6 separate regions of the Homo sapiens genome follow, and all the other regions are linked to region 1. The links are contacts of gene promoters, found by promoter capture Hi-C in blood cells and fetal thymus (Javierre and others, 2016). All regions are on one chromosome and are shown on one strand. The core of a region is centred on a gene start or on the middle of the fragment in contact, and the rest is flanking DNA. Distances in the headings are between cores, read along the strand shown. Region 1 holds the start of IKZF2 (IKAROS family zinc finger 2). Region 2 overlaps IKZF2 (IKAROS family zinc finger 2). Region 3 overlaps LOC102725082 (a long non-coding RNA gene). Region 4 has its middle 15 kb from the start of MIR4776-1. Region 5 overlaps LOC102725082 (a long non-coding RNA gene). Region 6 overlaps SPAG16 (sperm associated antigen 16).

Evidence for each region. Contacts are between HindIII fragments. The CHiCAGO score rates a contact against its expected background, and 5 or more counts as called.
Region 2: a fragment that was not itself captured here is called in contact with the fragment with the promoter of IKZF2 in region 1 in 3 of 17 cell types (fetal thymus, naive B cells and total B cells); the score reaches 7.2 in fetal thymus.
Region 3: a contact is called between a fragment that was not itself captured here and the fragment with the promoter of IKZF2 in region 1, in 1 of 17 cell types (fetal thymus). The highest score is 6.7, in fetal thymus.
Region 4: a contact is called between a fragment that was not itself captured here and the fragment with the promoter of IKZF2 in region 1, in 9 of 17 cell types (M2 macrophages, fetal thymus, naive B cells and 6 more). The highest score is 16.0, in M2 macrophages.
Region 5: a contact is called between a fragment that was not itself captured here and the fragment with the promoter of IKZF2 in region 1, in 1 of 17 cell types (total B cells). The highest score is 5.7, in total B cells.
Region 6: a contact is called between a fragment that was not itself captured here and the fragment with the promoter of IKZF2 in region 1, in 1 of 17 cell types (fetal thymus). The highest score is 10.0, in fetal thymus.

Annotation. Positions count from the first base shown.
Region 1 is chr2:213,150,162-213,152,861 of GRCh38, forward strand. It overlaps IKZF2 (IKAROS family zinc finger 2), which reads right to left and starts at 1,451. Exons shown (of 9, transcript NM_001387220.1): 1 at 1,252-1,451; 2 at 1-86. RefSeq lists silencers at 1,542-1,601, 1,682-2,041. The HindIII fragment of the contact is 7,158 bases long and covers 1-2,700 here.
Region 2 is chr2:212,998,341-213,001,170 of GRCh38, forward strand. It overlaps IKZF2 (IKAROS family zinc finger 2), which reads right to left. Exons shown (of 9, transcript NM_001387220.1): 9 at 1,358-2,830. Among named protein-coding and RNA genes, the nearest start is that of MIR4776-2, 73 kb to the left of the region's middle. The HindIII fragment of the contact is 4,483 bases long and covers 1-2,830 here.
Region 3 is chr2:212,931,104-212,933,882 of GRCh38, forward strand. LOC102725082 (a long non-coding RNA gene) reads right to left here. Exons shown (of 4, transcript XR_007088066.1): 4 at 1,783-2,779. Among named protein-coding and RNA genes, the nearest start is that of MIR4776-2, 6.2 kb to the left of the region's middle. The HindIII fragment of the contact is 2,172 bases long and covers 200-2,371 here.
Region 4 is chr2:212,909,520-212,912,219 of GRCh38, forward strand. No RefSeq gene overlaps it. Among named protein-coding and RNA genes, the nearest start is that of MIR4776-1, 15 kb to the right of the region's middle. The HindIII fragment of the contact is 850 bases long and covers 881-1,730 here.
Region 5 is chr2:212,968,473-212,971,312 of GRCh38, forward strand. The region is part of intron 1 of LOC102725082 (a long non-coding RNA gene); the gene reads right to left. Among named protein-coding and RNA genes, the nearest start is that of MIR4776-2, 44 kb to the left of the region's middle. The HindIII fragment of the contact is 1,341 bases long and covers 870-2,210 here.
Region 6 is chr2:213,286,131-213,288,830 of GRCh38, forward strand. The region is part of intron 1 of SPAG16 (sperm associated antigen 16); the gene reads left to right. Among named protein-coding and RNA genes, the nearest start is that of SPAG16, 3.0 kb to the left of the region's middle. The HindIII fragment of the contact is 3,262 bases long and covers 1-2,700 here.

The DNA.
Region 1 (2,700 bases), core at 201-2,700:
ATTAAAAAAGATTCATCACCATTTCCAGCTCTGTCGGGAGATCTCAGCTTCTTCTAACCCCTCAAAGAGGAGGTGACAATGTCGGGCTGAAGATAAACGGAGGGAGAAAGAAAGAAGTTTTTTGTGTTTCCCCCTTCTCTCTTTCCCTCCCTTGCCCCCTCCAAGCCAAGCCCCCTGCAGAGTTCAAGGGGAGGAGGAAGGAAAAGCACTTTACAGGTGGGTCATTCCAAGCCCAAATCCAGCAAACAGATCGGCTGATAAACAAAACCAAGAAATGAGAGAGAAGAACACCCCCCTCCTCCTCCTCCTCCTCCTCGTCCTCCTCCTCCTCCTCCTTCCACCCCTCCCCCTCGTCCCTTAGGGATGGTCTAGTAGGAAAAGTCACTCAGGAATGGCACCACGTACTTTCAGGAAAGAGGAAAAAAAAGAGAGAGAGAGAGGTCAGTCAGTGCTATAGCAATGCGATTAACAAGAGAAAAAACTTGATCCACCGGTTCCTTAAGAATCGACCAAAAGCTAAGACAAGAAAACTGAAAGAAAAGGGGGGGGGGGCGGGTAGAGGGGAGGGACAGTCAGGCAGAACCCAGCTAGGAACCCAGGCCAACTTCACAGGACTGTTTTTGGCCCTTGGCAAAAAAGAAAAAAAATAAATAAATCTTAATTCCATCTCTTTCGCCCATACTAGAACCTGTCAAAGTGATTTAACTGCTGCCTGTTTACATGTGTCATACCAGGGTTTTTGGTTTTTTTTTTTTTTTAATTCCAACAGGATCTGGATATTACCTTCTATCTGGACAGCTTCAATTTATTCCAGCCTACCCAATCTTTCTTCTTGGAATTCAAGTTAAAACAAAGCAAAACAAGTCCAAATTCATGACAGCTATAGAGATGAGAACTGATTAATCGATTAACATCCCAGAAACAGATTACAAGGAGGGGACGATAAATTAAGGCAGAGGACATCATCTTCAACCCGATTCCCTGAGCGTCCTTTACAAAAATCATTACCCTAATCAGAACCACAATCCATCCCTCCCAGAGAAAAATACCTATATTATTATTATTATTACTGGTTAACAGCAACAAGTCATTTGATCACATCACAGTGCAAAACGAGATGCTATATAATTACACTTAACTTTGAAAACACTCCCCCCTTTGCAAATCATACACATATTTATATATAATCTATGAATCAGAAGACAAAACAAGAGCTGTTCTTCACCACGCAAAAGCCAAGCGGAGATTTACCTCAGCAGTGCATGCAGTAAAATAATCCCATCACCCTTTTGTTTGTGTTTACTGTTAATGTGTCCTCTGTCTTTCTTTCTTTCCTGTGCCTAACGTGTGTTTGTGCACTGCAGTTGGTGGTGGAAACTAAGGCAGTGGATCTGTAGCTAAGGGTAATCCTGTTTTTACTTCCTCCATCTTCAGCGAGGAGCAGGGTTAGCCCGGGACAGCTGGTCAAACCCCGAGAAACCGATCCGGTGGAGCCCGAGCACATCTCCCCCGCCGGCCGGGCTCGCGCAGACGCCCGCGGGCGGAGGGCGGGCTGGCGGCGGCTGCGGCGGCGGCGGCGGCGGGCGGCTGGCGGCGGGCAGCGGAGCCCCGGGCGCGGGCGAGCGGACGTGCGTGCGCGCGCGTGCGTGTGTGCGGGGCCCGAGCGCCTGTGCGTGTGTGTATGAGAGCGCGTGTGCGCGCGCGCGCGGGCTGGCGGGCGCGTGTGCGCGTGTCTGCGCGCTAAGCCGCTCGGCGCGCTCGGCAATCGATTACAGGACAAGTGCTGCCCCGGAGGCTCCGCGACGCGCGCACTCCCTCGCGCCCACCCGCGCGCCCGGCCGCGTCGCCCCCAGCCCGTTGGTCCCCGGACTGCGGACCCCGCCCCCGACGGGGGCCAGGTAACCCGCTTCCGAGTGTGCCACGGCGACCCCCATCTCCCCTCCCCGTGTCATAATAAATCTCACGTTTTCTGCCGGCTGGAGGCTTGGAGCGGTGAGGTGACGTTCATTTCGGCCGCGTGAAGTTTTCTTTCAAACTGGGATTGGTGGGGAGGCCGGGGGAAGGGAGCGGGGCGGCGATCTTGGCGCCCTGCGCGGAGTCCGGGAGCCGCGTCCCGGCCGAGTCGGGGAGTGTGCGTGGAGCCTCCCACCTACTGGTCTCCGCCGGCAACTCTGCGGCCCCATTTCGGAAAGCGCACCGCATTGACCGGGACCTGAAGCGGGATAAGAGGGGTCCTGGGGAATAGACTGAGAAAGACATTCATGTCTGAGATGAAGCTCAACTATTACTATTTTGAAAGTGCTTTAACAGTGCAAGTTTAAAAACTAAAGTGTTGACTTGCTTTTTCTCCCCCGGGGCATGTGCCACGTCTTCCAAAGTCAAAGGAACGGATGAGTACAAAAAGTTGCTACCCTTGAAGTGTTACCTATCACTATCAACCACAGCTTGTTTATTTGGAAAGAACTTAAGTGAACCGTCAAGAGAAAAACAAATGCATATTCTTTCTACAAATAGTAGCATTTAGTATCTTTCCTGACCACATTTGCGAAAAGAGGGAATAGAGACTTCTATAATTAAAGGGAAAAGGAAAATGAAAGGAGCTGAAAATAGTGAACTGTGTAGTCTGGATGGCTGAAATTTGAAAACACATGAAATTATCAGGACTGCCAAACGGTGTTCCTGAGAAACCATATCACAGAT
Region 2 (2,830 bases), core at 202-2,701, 150 kb before region 1:
TAGGGGTGTTAACAAAAAAGGGGATTTTCCTGGAAGTTTAACGGGTCCATTTGGAACCCCCTAATAGCAGGAGGGAGGGTTGCTAAAATGCTAGATGAAATGCTTTCACCATGTGGTTCACACCCCAAGAACAGTCTTCTGGCTTGAGCATGCTGATAAAAAGTCTTACAATCATATCAAGATTTAAATTATTTATAATTTCTCTGACCATATTGCAATTGAAAAGTCAAGAGCATATGGCACATTTTTCAAGAAATCCTTTTCATTTGGCTCCTGTTGATATAATACACCAGGGGAATTTGACATTCCTTGCTGATCTTGAAGGAATCCTTTATAAATTTAATACTGGAGGATGATTTGGTAAGTTTTTCTTCTTTTTGCTTTGCTATTTCACTTGCTTCACAACCTCCCCTGCCCAAATTAGGTTAGTATTTTGAATTATGATACAGTCAAGGCAGGAAAATTTCATTTGAATTTATGGTATTTTTCATTCTGTGTGACACATGGAAGTGAAATTACTGGGGAATGTGGTAAGTATCCATGAAATTCTATAAATACATATCAGTGAGGAAAAACTCTAACAGCTATCTCAAATGTGATGGTGGAGTTCAAACTGGCCTGAAGGATAGTGGCTAGCTAACACTCAATAAAATGAATTTGCAGTCATATATGCCCTTTTGCATTTCTGGTTATGAAGATGTTTATAACAGAACAAACTTCTCATGGCAAAAGATAAATTACATTTGTAAAATCTAAGAAACAAAGAGATGTGTATGACTCACGTAGTGATTGTACAACATGAAGCAGAACTGGCAACCAGTTTTTGCCAGTGTGATTGAACAATCGCTATGACTTCTTAATTTTATCTTTGACTTCTAAGAAATACTGGTTTCTATAGCAGTAGTGTATTCTAGTAGTGTTATTGACCAGATCAGAGCACTCAGACCTCTTGTGTAATTTAAGTGCACTACTATGCTCTTTGGAGTAAGTCACAATTTTCTTTCCTAAGGTCTATTTTCTTATATAGAAAGGGGATAGGCTCTGATGTACACTCCTCTTTTTTAAAAGTGAAATAAGATATGTATGAAAGCTGTCTAAAGAGCAGAGATGTCATTCTTAACAAATCATGTAATACTTTGTTTTCTGCTCTGGTGGACTATATAGTAATGATGGAGATGACTAACGATTGAGATGTAGATTGCAGATATCACATGTATCCAAACCTCTGGAACTGGAAGTGTGACAAATACACAATGGCAATGATAATTTAAGCCTGGTATAGTCAACAATTTAGTCTTCTGTATTTGGAAGACATGTTTGTGTACAGAATTTTCACCAGAAAGTTTTTATAGCAAACTTTTTATGTCAGAAGTTTATTTTATTGGTAAAATATTAAATAATATACAGAATTAAAAACTGCACTTACACTTCTGAGAAGAAATAAATCTTGGACAAATTATATGCTTGTTCCTGAGATTCCCTAAATTTATTCCAGTAGCTGTGCACTCAGACAGTACAAACCTTTATAATATAATCCTTTTCACAAAGTATTACAAAGTTTCTGCAGCTTCTTTAGTTGTACACACATACAGACACACACTCACACATGCATATACAACACTCATACACATATACACAGTAACCACATACATGCACAGAACATGTATGTGTGTGCATTAAAAACAAAGAAGATACAAGTCCCACATTTTAGTCTGCAGTGATAAAACTATTTAGCGGAGGTCTCCAAATCAGTATGTAGTAGAGTGACTTGTCACACAGCTGCAAAGACTGTTTCAGTATTTCCATAGTAAACCTCATTTTCTGAGGTATGGTATTTGAGCCTTAAAAAAACTACATTACACTTAGCAAACCTGACATACAAGGTATGGAATTTTAACTTTACATATATATTTATATATATATATATATATTTCTTTTTTAAACAATAGTTTTTATTTCCCCAAATTATTAGTTTGAAAAAAAATGAGGTTTACTGGTTTGACCTATTTTTTTTTCTTTTTTTGCTTCTAAAACACAAAATACCCTAGAAACTGTCAAGCAATTAGTCTTTAAAATAGTCTAATTACCTTTGGTATTGTTAAAGAAAGAATATCTAAAATGGCCAAGACACATACTGTACAAATGCAGAAATGCAGTAACTGCCTTTAAAAGAAATGCCAAAGAAATGTTATCTTTTAACAAAACATGTATTTATATTACAGCAGTTTTACTACAGGGACACAGGTATAAAAAAAGAAAATTAGCACACTACATATAAATATGTATAAGAAAAATACCTCTTACTTAAATTTGTATGAAAACAGGACTGCTCCAAATATTTTTAAAAAAAATTTCTCCAATAGGTGATATGTAAGTGTTTAAAACTCAGCTAAGTGCTTTGCTTTTATTTAAAAGTTTATTTCTAAAAGGGGAGAAGTAAAATAAAAATATTAAGTATTAGGTTCTTAATTTAGAGCATTGGGCGAGGGTCTAAGAAGATTCAATCTGTAAAAAGTTCAACTTTAGGACACATTTTTCAAGCAAAAGATTACTAATTTCCATGGAAATTTAGCTTAAATAAAGATACCATGAGATCAGACTAGTGGTTTCCACATTCTGTAATCTTTTGATTGTGGAGTGTTTTTCTCTTTGCTTGTTGTGTCCTTTAACATACTATGACTTTTATGAGTTTCTTTTTGTCATTAGCTAAAGGAAGAATAGGTCAGAAAAGAAAAAAAAATCACCATAGTTTTTAAGACTTCAAGGGGAGTATTGCACTTGTACAGAAAGAAAAGAATAGTATCTTTTTAACTAATAGCAGAAGCAATCA
Region 3 (2,779 bases), core at 36-2,535, 220 kb before region 1:
AACATACTAACTCAGCTGAGACTACCCCAGATCTCTTATTATGTTCAAAAACAGCACACATCATATCTGTTTGTTTGATGAAGTATATATACAGAGAAGTGTCTAAAGCATATGGACAGTTTAAGAATGATGATAAAGTAAATACAATCAATATTGATTTTTCATTTATTATATTCAGCATTTTACATCACCTACTGAAAGCTTCCCAAGACTACCATGGCCAAAGTTCCATGCCTGTCGTATGATGACCCTTAGTCATTGTCCTTATCCCTAAGAAAGCACTTATCCCTCTTTGATCTCTTTGCCCAGAACTCACCCATGCACCAGCACTCATGCACAAAACTCATTAAGGACATGGAGTGTACCTTATTTCCACTGTATCACCATGCCCAGGCATGTGGTAGGTCACTTAATAAATAACTGATGACGAATGAATGAATGAAAATAAATATGTGACCCATAATTGTTTTCAAGTAGCTTAGAGTCGGAGAAGGGAAAACAGTAAAACAGTTTAATACAATTTGCTAAGTGTTTTTGATAAGGAGAGCCCAGGACGGGGGCGATTCAGATTCAGACTGGCACCCACCTAGCCCAGATCTTCTTGGAAGTGGTGTGCTGAGCCTTGGTGGGAAAGCAAGTGTCACTAGTTGAGTAGGGTGACAGAAAAGGCATAAAACAGGAGGAACAAGAGATCTGGCAGCTTGAGTTGCCATTAAGTGACTAAGGTACAGTCTAAATCAGAGGTTCGTAATCCATCTCTTCACTTGTGCTTTTTTCTCTTCTGGCAAATGTCTTGAAAGGAAAATCCAAGTCCTTGCTTTCAGAAGGCTTGCCACTTGGTTTCCTTAGAGTTTCCACCAACATGCTGCCTTGTTCCCCTGAGAAAACCGAACTGAAAGATCCATTTGAATTACCTAAATCCCTCCATCTCCTCCTATCAAGTTTTTACCCAGGCCAATTATGGCTAATATTGCCATTTTATAAATGATTCCAGCAAATGCTTTTCAGAGTTCAAATTTTAAAATGCCATCTCTTTTAATATTAGCAAAATGATGATTCAAATTGTCTCTGACAAACTCATGATGCTCACCTCAAATGACATATTCTGGATGAATATTTATTTCCTCTTAATTTTTGTTCTTTGATGTTGCAAATTCTTGAAAATGCATTCCCAGGACAATATTTGTGAGGTAATATGCACTGTACAATTTTTAAAAAGTCCAGAATATACTGTCTTTTTCCGGGACCAGCCCTTATTCCTTCAGAGGCCAGGTAGTATTTCCTCAGTGGCTCCCTGATTCAAGCAGCAATAACTATACAAGGAATGTTTCTTACTCAAAAACCTGGTCCTTGGAGTAGCAACAGAACTCAGGTTCTACCCTGGGTCTATTAAATCATTATCTGCATTTTAACTAGATCCCTATGTGATTTGCAAAAGGTTTAATCTAGTGCACTTACTCTATATGATTGTTAGGGAATGTTTGGAGATACACTATTGAGACAAAATCCTCAAATTCAGGCTCAATGGAAAATAGGATAACACTGACTAGTGAGATAGTGATGACTTTAGGAGTAAGTATTTTAATTGCATCACCAATCTAAATCCATCTCAACTCTCCTTCATCTTCTCTGACTCTATCAAACCAACTATCTTAAATTTCCCCACAACATAATCTTTCTAATTTAGTCAGGTCAAACTTTGCATTGTCTTGCAAATGTTGTGCGTCTTTACTTAGTGTAGTAGTCAGAGTTCTCCAAAAGAACACAAGTAATAGGATGTGGTCACACATATATGAAGAGATTTATTATAAGGAATTGGTCATGCAATCAAGGAGGCTGGCAAGTCCTAAGATTTGCAGGATGAGTCGGCAAGCTGTTGACCCAGGAGAGCTGATAGTTTAGTTCCACCCCAAGTCCAAAGGCCTGACAACCAGGACAGTTGATGGTGTGGTCCATTCCAAAGGCCAGCAGGCTCAAGACTAAGAAAGAACTGATGCTTCAATTTGAGTGTGAAGGCAGGAAAAAAACACCATGTCCTAGTTCAAAGGCCACTAGACACAAAGAATTCTCTCTTAGGGGAGAGTCAGCATTTCCGTTCTATTCAGACCTTCAACTGATTGGATGAGACCCACTTACATTAGGGAGGGCAACCTGTTTTACTCCTTCTACACAATGTTAATCTCTTCCAAACATCCTCATAGGCATACCCAGAATAATGTCTGCCCAAAAATCTAGTTACCTTGTGGCATAGTCAAGGTATTTGACTGTGGCATATAAATATTTATAATGTCCCCATCCCATGGAAATCTCCTCCTTCCACTGCACATCTTCCTAAAGCACAGCTCAAGCCTTTTTTTTTTTTTTTCCAGGAAGCTTTCCCTAACTCCCCTTCATAGATTTCTTCCTTGTCTCAATAGCCTATAGCACTCAGAGAGTCAGTACTAATTGTGGTAAAAAATCTGGTCCTTGGAATAGCAGCAGGGTGATTTGTTTTTATTTTCTACTCTTGCTTTTGGTGTGTTAGATTTATCTCTACCCAATTGGTAATGTATTTTATGATAGCATCCATGCAAAGGCAGTTCAGTCACATGTTTACTGCATACCTCATAGTTCTCAGATGCTCCCCAAATCCTGGCTAATTGATAGTTTCATTTATTTTCCCAATTAAGTTCACAAAAATATTTATCTTAGTATTTTTTTTTTTTTACTAATTAGAAGATACCAGAATATCCTTCCTGCAAGAATTGCCAGTGAAACTTGAGTATTGTTATTACATGTG
Region 4 (2,700 bases), core at 56-2,555, 240 kb before region 1:
AAGCAAAGACGTGGAATCAACCCAGGTGCTTATCAGTGGTGGAATGGATAAAGAAAATGTGGCACATATACACCATGGAATACTATGCAGCCATAAAAAAGAACAAAATCATGTTCTTTGCAGCAATGTAGATGCAGCTGGAGGCCATTATCCTAAGTGAACTAATGCAGAAACAGAAAACCAAATATCACGTGTTCCCGCTTATAAGTGGGAGCTAAACATTGTGTACACAAGGACAGAAAGATGGGAACAATAGAAACTGGGGACACAAGAGCGGAAAGGGAGGGTTGAAAAACTACCTACTGGGTGCTATGCTCACTTCCTGGGTGACGGGTTCAATTACACTCCAAACCTCACATTACACAATAAAGGTTTGTAACAAACCTGCACATGCCTTCCCAGAATCTAAAATAAAAGTTGAAAAAAAAAAGATTAAGTCCACTAATTTGTCAATGTGGATATGAAAGTAAGTAGCCACATGATTAAAACTCATTTCAACTTGTTTATTGCATTTATAATTGATTCTCATTATTTGCAGGTTCTGTGTTTGTGAATTCACCTACTCACAAAAATCTATTTGTAACCCCAGAATCAATACTAGCAGTGTTTTGTGTTCTTTCACGAACATGCATAGAGCAGGGACAAATTTAATCACGTCCCAGCTGAGGTAGAACAAAACCATGCTCTGCCTTCCTGGTTCAGCTCTCATATTGTAAACAAGTGGCCTTTTTTCAGTCTATTTATTGTCACCTGTTTCTGCATTTTTGTGCTTTTTGTTGTGTTTCACAGTTTAAAATGAACCCCAAGCACGGTGCTGAAGTGCTGTCTAGAGTTCCTAAGGCTGTGATGTGCCTTAGGGAGAAAATATATGTATTAGATAAGCTTCAATCACCCATAAATTACAGTGCTGTCAGCTCTAAGTTCAATGTTAATGAATCAACAATAATACTAAATGTGTCTTTAAATGGAAACACACATAAAAGAAGGTTATGTATTCATCAGTTAATGAAATTGTGACAAGGCACAGAAGAACCTGACCCTGTATTTCCCTTAGGGGGAATGGTTTAGTATTTGCAGCAATTTTATAGGATGTAACAATTGCAAATTATGAGAATTGATTGTATATTTCATATTTGATATTTTCATCATCTTCAGAAAGGATCAGATGGAAAGTTTAGAAGACATTAATATGTAGGGTTTCTTTAAAAATGAAATACTATATTATTACCATATATATTATGCTCACCATATCCTTTTCTTATGATGATTTTTAATTCCTTTTTTAAAAAATCTTTCTCCTAGTTAGAGAGACTTTTTAGTTAGTATTAATAATTATTTCTTACTATTGATAGGGTGCCACTAACAATATTTCTTAACATAAATCTCAAAGGAAAGGGGCTTTCTCAGAAGTCCTGGGAAGTTAGTTGGTGGCTGCGCCCACCTGCCCACATATGACTACTCTGCAGTGCTCCAAGAGGGGCTCATGACTTATCGGATGACAGCACAACTTCATGCCACAGAAAGAAGAGGATGCCCTTTAAAGGTAAATGCATCCAAATTCCAGCTTTACCAATTCAGGCTCATATAACCGAGAATGAGTTGTTTACCTTTCTGAGCTTTTCTGTCTCTCTTAATCTGTAAAATGAAGATACTGAAACCAACTTACCAAGGCAACCTTTTTCTTTACTAAAACCAAATCTAGAAACTCAAAATGTAGTCATGAAAGAAAAAGCTTTGTGGTAAGATAGGTGCGAAATCCAGCTGCTTTGGCATTTCCCCCAATTTTATCTTTCTGTGGGGCTGTCACACTTTTACTACCAGTGCTAGCATTGTGAGGGGTCCTCCAGTCTGGCTGTTCTCCTTAACTGATTTAAAGACCGTTACTCCCCCTTGTTTCTCTTTAGCACAACCAAGGCAGGCAGAAATCTCCCAGAGGCCTTCACTAACTATTAAGGGAGACAAAGTGTCAGGACATTGTGGAGGAAGCCCCTCTGGGGTGGTTCATTTGATGGCATCTCCCATGTGGAACAAGGCTAGAAACTAGAATGTAAAAAGTCCAGGGAAATAGAATAGGCATGCAAGGCCTGCACTATACTCTTCAAAACGGCATTTGGAGTAAGAAAGGCAGATTTTATCAGGGCAGAGTTCTACTCAGGAGTAGTTGAATCAGAAATCTGCAGTGTGTAAACCAGACTTCTGTTATTCTTTCTGTCTTTCCTATATTTGCATCCTTGCTGTTTTTATCATTTAATAAAGTCGTTTTAAAAGCAGCAACCTATAAAAAGCACAGTTCAGTTGTACTAAGGAACTCAATTTGGGATTTCTGACTACGTTTTAGCCCTAGTTTTAAAAGGTGTATAGCTAGAGATGGGATGTAAATATAGTATCAAGGGTAGAAAAACTAATGAGCAACACCCAGGATATTTGGAGAAATAGAGTTTGGTTATTTGGTCAGGCTTAATCCCCCATAGGAAGAATACCAAAGTGGTTGGCACAAGGGCTGACTATGACAATATATTAACTATGTCGTAACAAAATACCTCCAGAAGGGGCTGTTTTATATTTTGACAACTACAAACACACATGCTAAAATTAGATAATATTTTTTAAACTTTTTTATAAGAAACTTACCAAAGTTTTACTAGTAAAGGAAGAGTGATGTGCTCATTTTTAAAAATTGTATTCAGTAATTCCACTTAT
Region 5 (2,840 bases), core at 290-2,789, 180 kb before region 1:
CAGAGTGAGTCAAAATACCATGTCAAGTAGAAAGCCAGAAGAGAACTCTGCAAAGTACAAAAGCCTGCATTCCACCCTTAGTATACAGAATTCTGGTGTGGACAGACAATTTGAATTACTCTAGAGATGACAGAGAAAACTGTGAACTCATAAGAAACCAAACAATTCTGCTTTCTTTTTTTCTTTAACACAAAAATGTTAATTCAACACTGCTTACTTGTATCACAGTACCTCTTTCATTTCACTTGCAAATTGTTTACAAATATGCCCCTCTCTCACTCAGAAGTCATATTCACTGATATTGGTCTAAATCATGCCTGTACATGCTATGTATTTTCTGTTCATTTCTGAGCTCCACCCAACTTGCTCATTTTCCTTATCGCTCAAGATTTAGAAAAAGTTGATTCATGTCAGTACGACATCATGCAGATTGACTAAAACTAACTTTGAGATTAGGGGAGACACGTCTTTCTATAAAAGAACCCGGAGTTGCCCTTAGACTTTATGTGTTCATCCTGCTATATATGACACTTAAGCTAACAGAACTGAATTTCTTTGTGGTTTACATCTCTAGAGAGAATATGTTTCTTCTTGTTTAAGAAGTGATACACTGAGATCTTAAATCTTCCTGGTTTTAGCAGAGGAGACAGGGTGGGCTCTTCAGTGATCTATATTCTCCAGTCAAGTTGTTACTACTGAAGTGGAAACTTTTCTTCAAATTATTTGTCTGGGTCTCATTTGGGCCTAAAATGCAGACTTCAGCTTAGATGAAACTATCAGAAATTTAGGAAATGAAAAGTACCCAACAGCAAAAAGCTAAATAAAGTGAATACGGCATCTATTTATATGTATTTAATCCTTAGAAGACAAGCTTCTAGAGAAAAAAACCACAGGAGAATCTTAGCCTATGCTAATAAGTGAAGAGGAAGATACTCACCATGTAATATTAGCTAAAAAAACAAATGTGCATGGTGGGAACAGATGGATTTTTATTTTGGATTTAACTCATTAAAGGTATTTCGTAGTCTGGCTGCAAGTCAGACTATTTAGAATGATGGAGATAGGTATTAAAACTAAAATAACCCAGCTATTGTTAATATTAATAAATCGGCTTGGAACTTGCACTTTCTTCCAGCTGTTATCTTTAAACAATCTATTTAAATATTTCTTTGCTCTCTTACCTTTCTTTAATTTCTCAAAGATATGCATAGCCACTATCCTATCCCTTTCCTATATGGAATACTTAGCACTAATTTACATTTTGCCAATATATTTATACTTTGCTTCTTGGCCTTTCAGTGAAGACTAAAGTGCTGTAACGTGTAGTAAATATGTTCACCCACTACCTAGAAGTCTCCCAGACAAAAAAATTCCCTAATTTAATAACCATCAGTTTTTCAAACAATGTCAGATATATCCCACCATTTTCCAAAAAAAGCTGCAAGCAACATTTCACCCAACAGACCCTAGGCACCATCAGTGGTTAAAGGTCTTACCTCAGTATGAGGCAGCTGGGTAAGATCTGGAATATGCATGTGTCCTACAAGGCTGTATGTCATGAGCCAGTGCCAGAAAGGGCAATTTTCTTTTTTATTTAGACCAATTCGAGAAAAATAAACTTGTTTACAGGCCACCTTAAAAAATTCAACATGGGGATAGCTTTATTTGGGCTTTTGTGAGAGTGGATATATTCATTCAACCTAGATTATCCATTTAGTGTCAGTGAAAAAAATTGCAGGCACTTCTTAGTCACCAATATGTTAAGGTTTGTAATAATCCAGAGCAATTTTCTAATTGTATCCTGAAAATAGGTTCTTCATCACATGGAAAATATGGGAAGATTGCAAAACTGAGTCATGGGTTGCTCATTACTGACCTGGAATCTTATTCTCTCTAAGTTATTCAAAACACAGAACAGTTGGTGTCAGAGTTTCTCTAAAGGGAGCATTCATTTAGAAGTGAGGACAAATAGCTCAGATTTAAGCCATGTAAAAAGAGTGGGAATTGAAGATATGAACCCAACACTTAATTTTTAACATAAAGGCAAATGTCAAGGTGCATATGTGAGAGAGATGAGGAACACACCATCACGAAATAGGGAATGTTAGGGCCAGATGGAAACCTTGGTGATTATTTAAGTCCACCTCCTAGATTTTTACAGACAAGGAATCAGATAAATGACATGATGTCTTAAGACATTCCATAGCAAAAGCTTGGGAGTCAATACTACTTCAGTTTGATTACTGGTCCAGCAATTACTGGCTGTGGGGCATTAAGTATGTTATTTTACCTCCCTTTGCTAGTTTCATCTATGATATTGGGATGATTGTGCAGCACTAAACTAATAAGTTGTTTCAAGGAACAAATAAATCTGCTTATACATATAAACCACTCAAATCAGTATTTACAACTGACGTGCACCCAATAAATGATAAATTTCTTTTCACAACTTTTCATCTGCTCTAGGTTTTTAAATTATCCACCATGACTTTAGAATAATTTAAAGAATATATTGATATGTTCCATTTACATACCATTCCTGGAAAAATAGTATTCCTATGAATTTTATAATTAAAATATAAAATATATTCAATGTTAATTCTTGAAATTAATGGGTAAATTAATTTATACATGGATCTTTAGTGTGAACTTAGGCCAGGCTTGAGACATGTAGTACCTCAACATGTTGGACAAGCGTTTCGGGTCTCACTAAGCCTTGAGGAATGGGAAAAAAAGGAAATGGAATGGCTTTCCCCATTCAGAGATAGCACCTCCCCACCATGCTCATAACTCAGACAGCACTGCACTTTAAAGGTAAGGGGAGGGGGCACATACAAGGA
Region 6 (2,700 bases), core at 135-2,634, 140 kb after region 1:
AGCAGTTTGCAAACCTGTCTTACAAAGACTTTTTCAAATAATCACACTTATTTGAACTTTAACACATATAAGCAACTGTAACTTTTTAGGATTTTACTAACCGTTGTGTGAATTATCCAACCCATTTGCTTTTCTTCTTTCTTTGGTTGACTGACTGCTATTTTGTATTTTAACCAAATGGTAGTCAGGGGATACACAGTTAAACATTTAACCAGTTTATTTTGCTATATTCCATGCTGAGGGAAGAGGTTTAGTCATTTCAACTCTCAGTTGAAATGAAGTTTGAGGATTACTTGTGAATACCAATTATTCCTGTATCCCTGGGCACTCTTCACATGGTTAATTAAGAGTTGCCTGTGTAATGTTGTTTGACATTGTTTCTTAAGGCAATTATGATAGTTGCCAAAGTGAGACTTCCTTTGGTTTAAAGTCTTTGCTTTCAGGTAATTTAATTGAGCTATCATGGTGGGTAAATAAAAGTTATAATATGCACAGATGAATCAGAAATCTGATGTCCTCTGCTTCGCACATATACTCAATCACTTCTAATCTACTGCATTTGGCCTGGATTTCCCTTATTTATCACTCAACAGATGCTCCTAGTACATTAGACAATGAGCTATCAATATCGAGCAAGACTTTGAAAGAAGTTGACTTGAATTCTTTAGGAAATCTCCCACTTTTCTGCTTTTAAATACTCAATTATGAAGAGTATGAATAGACTAATGTCCAAACCAGAAACAGCCAGGATCCATCTTGTGGGGGACATTAATGAAGGTCCCATGTCCTTTATAATGGTTTACACACTGGGTTCAGGAAAAAGAGTTCTTACCCTGCAACACCCTTTCCCTGTAATCTCCTAGCTGTAACAGTGCCACCTATTTCTCTTCTAAGGAACCCAGAATATCATTGCTTTTATGTTTTAGACTTCAACAAGGTGAGATACAAATATACATTGTTCTTAGCTATTGTCAGAACACTAAGAAATTGAGTTATGGAGTATATGAATCCTCTCTAGAACCCATCATTAGAAAAATACTTGCAGCATTATAAACTATAAGGTGAGATTTTAGCTATGTGATAGATATGTAAAGGGTCAAGTAGGTATCTCCAGAACCTAGAAAGAAGGTTGATTGTCTTTTGTGAATGAATGAATCCCTTATTAGAAATCAACACAACTTGGGTGAGGTTTTCAACTGTAGTAGTGAGGAAGGGCTGCCTATTAATGTATGGCTGCAGACATTTGGGACTGCCTAGTTCCAATTGGAAGGCCAGCATGAATTTGTACTAAGAAAGCTAAGGGTTAATTGACTTTGTTGTTCCTTGTCTAAAGAGACTTTGTTCAAGGAATAGTAAATGAATACATGGACCCTAGGAAAGTGGAGCTTCAAGGTATTGTTTTTGTTACATACCTCCCTCAATATGGACATCTGGCTCCTCTAGCTTTTGATTATTTCCTCTCTCTGGGCATTCTAATACTAAGGATTTGGCTTTTTAGATGGTAGGTGTAAGTTTACTGGCCAATGAAAAAGGCTCCCCAACCCCCAGCAGCAATTTCTGAGAGTTCAGTAAGTTTAAGCCAGTTCTGTGAAGCTAATCAGCTCTGAATGGAGTCCCAAAGTCAACTCTTTCTGAAACTCCAAAATTAAGGACTCTAGACCCTGAAATATGAGGATCACACTAGACTGATGCCCTTATCTGAGATACTGAGGACTGTAATTGAAGTAGCAAGCCTGTAGATAAATATCTTAACTTCTACCATGCTACCTTTAAAAAAAATTATTATTTTTTTAGAGATGAGGTATTGCTCTGCTACCCAGGCTTGAGTACAGTGGCATGATCATAGCTCACTGCAACTTCAAATTCCTGGGCTCGAGCAATCTTCCCACCTCAGCTTCCTGAGTAGCGGGGACTGCAGATGTGCGGCACCATACCCAGCTAATTTTGTTTGTTTGTTTTTGTTTTTGGTAGAGACGGGGGTCTCACTCTGCTATTCAGATTGGTCTCGAACTCCTGTGCTCAAGGCATCCTACTGCCTTGGCCTCCCAAAGTGCTGGGATTACAGACATGAGCCACTGTACCAGGCTGCTGTCTTCTTAAGTAACAGTTCTATCTAGTCTTTCATTGCCATAGTAATGTTGACTGATAACTTTAATTAAAATTGAAGTTTTCCTTATTTTATTTTATTTTTTGAGACGGAGTCTCGCTCTGTCTCCCAGGCTGGAGTGTAGTGGCACGATCTCGGCTCACTGCAAGCTCTGCCTCCCGGATTCGTGCCATTCTGCTGCCCCAGCCTCCCGAGTAGCTGGGACTACAGGCATCTGCCACCACACCTGGCTAATTTTTTTTTTTTTGTATTTTCAGTAGAGACGGGGTTTCACTGTGTTAGCCAGGATGGTCTCGATCTCCTGACTTCGTGATCCATCCGCCTCAGCCTCCCAAAGTGCTGGGATTACAGGTGTGAGCCACCGCACCTGTCCTTTCCTTTTTTTAAATTTACTGTATGGTTTTTAACTTTTTTTTTTTTTAAAGCTAAACATTGTAGTTGAGTAAGTAAAACATTTAGAAAGGTGGATGCATAGATTTCTTTTTCTTTTTTAAAACTAACATTCTCTTAGATACATGTGTTAACCACTTTTTCTTCTGTTATAAAATGGTACTTCTCTGAAATGTTTGTAGTATTATAATTGTTCTGAACCC